2 separate regions of the Homo sapiens genome follow, and region 1 is linked to region 2. Evidence: promoter capture Hi-C in 16 types of primary human blood cells and fetal thymus (Javierre and others, 2016). All regions are on one chromosome and are shown on one strand. Each heading gives the region's core, a stretch centred on a gene start or on the middle of the fragment in contact. The rest is flanking DNA. Distances are from core to core; before and after follow the strand shown. Region 1 has its middle 100 kb from the start of PRSS1. Region 2 holds the start of OR6V1 (olfactory receptor family 6 subfamily V member 1).

Region 1 (3,241 bases), core at 11-2,510, 410 kb before region 2:
GGCTAGAGTGTATATCGGTAGATCCAGTTTGGAAAACAATTTGGTATTATCTAGTAAAGTTCAAGATGTGTGTACCCACTATCCATCAATTCCACCCTTGAGAAAGGCTTTTCTAGAGAAACCCTTCTACGAAAATCAGGACAAGAATATTCACTGTAATACATCTGTCATGGCAAAAACGTATAAAATATCCAAATGTAACTTAAGAGAAGAATAAATCCTGGTTATTAAAAAGAAATTACACAGCAGTGAAAATTCATGAACTAAAACTAAACACACAAACATGAATGAATTTCACAAATTTGAATGAAAAATTACATTGCAGAAGAAAGGTACAGTATTGTCTCGTTTGTGTAAAGTTTGAAAGCATCTAAAACTAAACACTATTTTGTTTGCTTATGTGCCTATGCATTAAAATATAAAAGAGAAGCAAATAATTACAAAAACAAACACCTCAATAGAGTTAGAGAACAGAGGCATGGAATCTGGGAAAAGAAATAAGAGCTTTCAAATATTCTGGTAATCTTTTATTTCCTGTGCCAAGTTGTTTTTTTAAGTGATCATTCTGTTGGTATTTTATCAAGTTATTATCTATATATTCAAAGTCCATTTTGTAATGTGGAGAAAACAACCTCACTGAACAATTAAATTAGTAAGGAGAAATCTATGGAAAGATATACATTAAGCTGTTAACATTACTTACCTGAAATGAGGATGAGATGGAGGAAGAGAAAAGTAAGCGAAAAAAAAAATCATCAAAAAATGCACAATTTAAAATAAATAGTTACAGAGAGAAAAAGCAAAAAAGGGAGGTTATGTAAAAGAAGCACTAGTAAATGAACAAGCTAAAATACACCAGAAAGAGCTAGAAGGTGAAGTATTTTTCAAAGCAGTCACTAGTTTCAGAATCATAAAGATAGCAATTACAACAGAGATCTGAAATATATAAAAGATAATTAGATAACTAATAGCCAGAAGGAATGTCCAGTCTTGAGTTAGAAACTGATGCTCAAATTAATGGCAAAGGACGTTTTTGAAACAACTGTGAAACTTTGCATAAAAACTAAATAGTAGATAAGATGAAAATGCATCGATGAGAAAGGATGATCATTAACTGAAAAAAAGCTTATCAAACAGAATTTCAAGAATATTGTTTACTAAAAAAAGTGTCTATATATCTACACATTTATATATGGGGCAGAGAAGGATCTAGAAAGACTCACTAAGGTGTTAACAGTGATAATTGCTTTCTGGCAGTGGTATCATATTTTTATTTTGTTATTTTATTTTCTAACTTTCTAAAATATGAGTGTATTGCTTATATTAGCAAAAATAGACATAACATATTTTTAAATGAATACAAAATAACTGAGTTATATTTCCTGAGTTAGGATAAAAGCTTTTTTTCCCTGATACTATGAAGTGTTTTTGCTCAGGAACATGAAGCAATAACATGATGATTATAAGTCAGTGGAGGGATCACGTCACAAGAAGGTGCAGAAAGGGGATGAAAAAGCCTCATCCCTTTGCAACGTCAATGCGATCATGGGCACCAGGCTCCTCGGCTGTGCAGCCCTGTGTCTCCTGGCAGCAGATGCGCCCTGAGCACAAAAGAAAAATCCTTGTCCTGGGCTTGCCAACCAGCAGATCCAAGCTTTGTTTTGTTTTGTTTTGTTTTGTTTTGTTTTGTTTTGTTTTGTTTGTTAAGCTCTTTCCTGGACTCTTTCTACAGCATCTGTTTCTTTCTCTTACAGACTCTTTTCATGCCAAAGTCACACAGACTCCAGGACATTTGGTCAAAGGAAAAGGACAGAAAACAAAGATGGATTGTACCCCCGAAAAAGGACATACTTTTGTTTATTGGTATCAACAGAATCAGAATAAAGAGTTTATGCTTTTGATTTCCTTTCAGAATGAACAAGTTCTTCAAGAAACGGAGATGCACAAGAAGCGATTCTCATCTCAATGCCCCAAGAACGCACCCTGCAGCCTGGCAATCCTGTCCTCAGAACCGGGAGACACGGCACTGTATCTCTGCGCCAGCAGTCAATCCACAGCACTGAAATGTCAGTTCCTCTTAGCACACAAACTTGTCACAGACCCAGCTCAGGAAGCAGGTGATGTATTAGGCTGGAAGGGAGTAACAGAAAATAACTGGAGCCAGCTTAAGCCACAGTGTAATTTAACACAAGGATAAAGGGTGTTTAGCAGAAGTCAAGAGGTGATAGAAGTTCTGAAAAGGCACCACTAGGGCTGGGCTCTAGAATGGCTATCTCTCCAGCGCTGATTTTTATTCAATTTTGGCTGCTGAATGCTTTTCTCTCCCTGTACACCATCTCTTTTTCTCCAGGCCTCGTGGTGAGAATGAGATGGTCACTAAAGATTACAAATTCAGTTGCCATCATTTCCCTACACTGATAAATACCAGGCTGGCTCTTTCTAAGCCTCAATTCAAAATCCCAAGAGAAAAAAACAGATCAGTCATGATCCAGCCATTAACCTTCTCACAGAGCACTCAGCAGTAGGCATGTATGTATATATTTAAAATCACATAAATATTACTTTTCCACTCAGCTCAAGAAAGGGAAGTGCTCCGTTTTTCTGTAAGTACATTTGGTCTTGTTGCTTCTACATGATAGAGAGTACTCATACCCATTTCTTCAGAAATACATAGCCAGATTTTCTCCAGTTTTCTGCCAGAATTGAAAATTCTTGTACAAATACCTTCATAGACTTGTATGATTGCTTTATAGGATTATATACCCAGAGCAAGTCATGATTGCTGAGACATGGAATTCTATGCATATTTTATCTATCTAAATACCACCACGGGTTCTTCAGGATCACTGTATACATCTGCAATCCCACATAAAAGTGAATAGGGTGTTTTCCTACATCCTAATATCTCCTTTAATCCTTATCCAGTGATCTAGATTGTTCTCAGTCTAGCAATGTAAAGAGATTCCAATCTCTGTCTCTCTTTCTCTCCACCCCCCACCCCTGCAACCCTCTCACCTACTGCCAGAATATCATCAGTGTTTACCATAAAGATACAGGTGACAATTTTTTAAAACTAAATAAAACCAATAATTTAAAGGAACTGAGAGATTACGTTATACTACTATAATAATAACTGGCAGCAATCTAGAAGGCTGAATAATGTTCTCTCCCTCCTTTTCTTTCCTTTGCAATTTTCTAATTACTAATGAGTTTGAGCACTTCTTCATGTGATAGTGGTCCT
Region 2 (3,288 bases), core at 736-3,235:
CTAGCTTTGTCATCCAGGCTGGAGTGTATTGGCATGATCTCAGCTCACTGCAATCCCACATCCCAGGTTCAAGTGATTCTCCTACCTCAGCCTCCCAAGTAGCTGGGATTACAAGTGCCCGCCACCATGCCCAGCTAATTTTTGTATTTTTAGTAGAGACGGGGTTTCACTGTGTTGGCCAGGCTGGTCTTGAACTCCTGACCTCGTGATCCGCCCACCTCAGCCTGCCAAACAGCTGGGATTACAAGCGTGAGCTACCGCGCCTGGCCGGGTGCAAGGCTTTTTAAAATTAGAATGTCATTGCTGTGTGGCCAGGACACAACCCCAAATGAAGCATTTATGGGGCTGGAGAAAGGGCCAGAGTATATCTACACACAGCTTCACTCCTTCCACTCCTGACAGTTTGTGTTGTAAATACTTTGTTTGTGTTTGAAATGTTTTAAAGTACCCTTTTAGTGAACTGAAATTCCAAGAAACAGTGTAAAGCTGTAAAGATCTTCACACACACACATGCTGGCAATGAGAAGAAGTGTAGAGAGATGATGGGCAAAAAAAATTTGAGTTCTATTGACGGTCTAACAATAAGAACAGTGATAACAATAACAACAACGATTTGTTGGCTAGTATGTGCTAGTCACTGCACTAAGTAGTTTACTTATTTAATTTTATAATCACCATAGAGGCTAAGTACCAGTAATACCATTATTTTACAGCTGAATAAACGGGCTCAGAGAGAGTAAGTAACAAAGAAGAGCAGATTTACGGCCCGTGACAAGCAAGTCTAGAGCCAGAATTCAAACACAGGCAAGCCAACTCCATAGCTTACACTTTGCACCACGGCGGGAGGGGAAGTGCAATGGAGACGGCAAAGCAGCACCCTTGGGTAGACAGATTATGCCGTTGGGAAGCCTGATGACTGTGTGTGTCCTGGGAGAGCAGCCACTTGGATTTCCAGGCTCGCTCCCTGACCTGCTGCACCCTTTCTGCTCTCCATCTTTGCAAACACGAAGCAGAGGTCTCCTCTAAAGGAAGTTAATTTCTGGACTCAAAACTCTGACTTTCACTAATTTCATGATCATAGCCGGAGAAATGTGCACAAGCGAGGGTCCTCAGAGAGGCAGCTCAGAAAGGTTTGCAGGGACCCTTTAAAAAGGGTCTTGGGGCACAACCTCTGGGTGTGACATAGACGGATTAGCCTACATTTGGGGGCTTCTGGGTCACATGCACTAATGCTCTCTCTCCCTCTCTTTTTCTGTGTTCCTCCCCTTCCTGTATTTCTCTATTTGAATTTTTTCTGTTCTTTCTCTGGTCCTCTGTTGTTTCCTTCTTGTTTTCTCCCTAAATGTCAATGTCTGTTGCCATGTGGTCTTCCTTAATCTTTTCCTCTGTTTTTCTTTCTTCCCCCCCTTTTTTTTTTTCTTTTTTGAGATGGAGTCTCACTCTGTCACCCAGGCTGGAGTGCAGTGGCACGATTTCGGCTCACTGCAACCTCCACCTCCCAGGTTCAAGCGATTCTCATGCCTCAGTTTTGCAGGTAGCTGAGATTACAGTTGCCTGCACCTGGCTTATTTTTGTATTTTTAGTAGAGACAGGGTTTCACCATGTTGGCCAGGCTGGTCTTGAACTCCTGACCTCAAGTGTTCCCCCTGCCTCGGCCTCCCAAAGTGCTGGGATTACAGGCATGAACCACCATCCCCAGCCTTCTCTCTTCTTAATAATGGCTTTCTATGTCTTTCACTTCTCTCATACCCTCACTCTGTTTCTCCTTGACTCTCCCATTCCTGTTTTGTTATCTTTCTTTATTGCCGTTTCTTTCTGCTTTTCTGTTTATCACTCGCTGGCTACTTGCCTTTCTCTCTCTATTCTCTGTCTCTGTCCCTGTTTCTTCTGTTTCAAGTTCAATGGTTCTCTGTCTCTATCTCTCTGTTTCTGCCTCTCCGTCTGTCTTTTGTTTCTCTTGCATGCAGGGCCCCATACTGTGGATCATGGCAAATCTGAGCCAGCCCTCCGAATTTGTCCTCTTGGGCTTCTCCTCCTTTGGTGAGCTGCAGGCCCTTCTGTATGGCCCCTTCCTCATGCTTTATCTTCTCGCCTTCATGGGAAACACCATCATCATAGTTATGGTCATAGCTGACACCCACCTACATACACCCATGTACTTCTTCCTGGGCAATTTTTCCCTGCTGGAGATCTTGGTAACCATGACTGCAGTGCCCAGGATGCTCTCAGACCTGTTGGTCCCCCACAAAGTCATTACCTTCACTGGCTGCATGGTCCAGTTCTACTTCCACTTTTCCCTGGGGTCCACCTCCTTCCTCATCCTGACAGACATGGCCCTTGATCGCTTTGTGGCCATCTGCCACCCACTGCGCTATGGCACTCTGATGAGCCGGGCTATGTGTGTCCAGCTGGCTGGGGCTGCCTGGGCAGCTCCTTTCCTAGCCATGGTACCCACTGTCCTCTCCCGAGCTCATCTTGATTACTGCCATGGCGACGTCATCAACCACTTCTTCTGTGACAATGAACCTCTCCTGCAGTTGTCATGCTCTGACACTCGCCTGTTGGAATTCTGGGACTTTCTGATGGCCTTGACCTTTGTCCTCAGCTCCTTCCTGGTGACCCTCATCTCCTATGGCTACATAGTGACCACTGTGCTGCGGATCCCCTCTGCCAGCAGCTGCCAGAAGGCTTTCTCCACTTGCGGGTCTCACCTCACACTGGTCTTCATCGGCTACAGTAGTACCATCTTTCTGTATGTCAGGCCTGGCAAAGCTCACTCTGTGCAAGTCAGGAAGGTCGTGGCCTTGGTGACTTCAGTTCTCACCCCCTTTCTCAATCCCTTTATCCTTACCTTCTGCAATCAGACAGTTAAAACAGTGCTACAGGGGCAGATGCAGAGGCTGAAAGGCCTTTGCAAGGCACAATGATGAGCCCAGGGCCCAGGGGAACCTGGCCTGCCTCCATTGAGCAGTTCTGTGGGGAGGGAGACCTCCAGCAAGTGGGAAGAACACTGCTGAGTTTCTTTAGTTTTTTTCCCTCTGAGCAATAACTACAGTGAGCCCTGAGTGCTGCACTGTCTGGCCCAAAGCTCTTATGGACCACCATGGAAGAGTTCCCTACATCCCCTGGCAGCCGTAAGAACTCTGAGAGTAGCCCAGAGCTTTCAGTAAAGGGAAGTGCATGTGCTTTGCATTTAAGGAAGAGCAGCCAAGAAGTGCTCTATGATCAAGAGGTAGTGTCCAATCCCAGTATGTGTGCATGGGTGTGTATGTGTGTACATATGTGTGT

What was found. The method cuts DNA at HindIII sites, captures the fragments that hold promoters and counts their contacts. A CHiCAGO score of 5 or more calls a contact.
Region 1: a contact is called between a fragment that was not itself captured here and the fragment with the promoter of OR6V1 in region 2, in 1 of 17 cell types (total B cells). The highest score is 5.4, in total B cells.

Annotation. Positions count from the first base shown.
Region 1 is chr7:142,644,416-142,647,656 of GRCh38, forward strand. It overlaps TRB and the pseudogene TRBV23-1. Among named protein-coding and RNA genes, the nearest start is that of PRSS1, 100 kb to the right of the region's middle. The HindIII fragment of the contact is 274 bases long and covers 1,124-1,397 here.
Region 2 is chr7:143,050,356-143,053,643 of GRCh38, forward strand. OR6V1 (olfactory receptor family 6 subfamily V member 1) reads left to right here and starts at 1,986. Exons shown (of 1, transcript NM_001001667.1): 1 at 1,986-2,927. The coding sequence starts at 1,986. The coding sequence ends at 2,927. The HindIII fragment of the contact is 11,126 bases long and covers 1-3,288 here.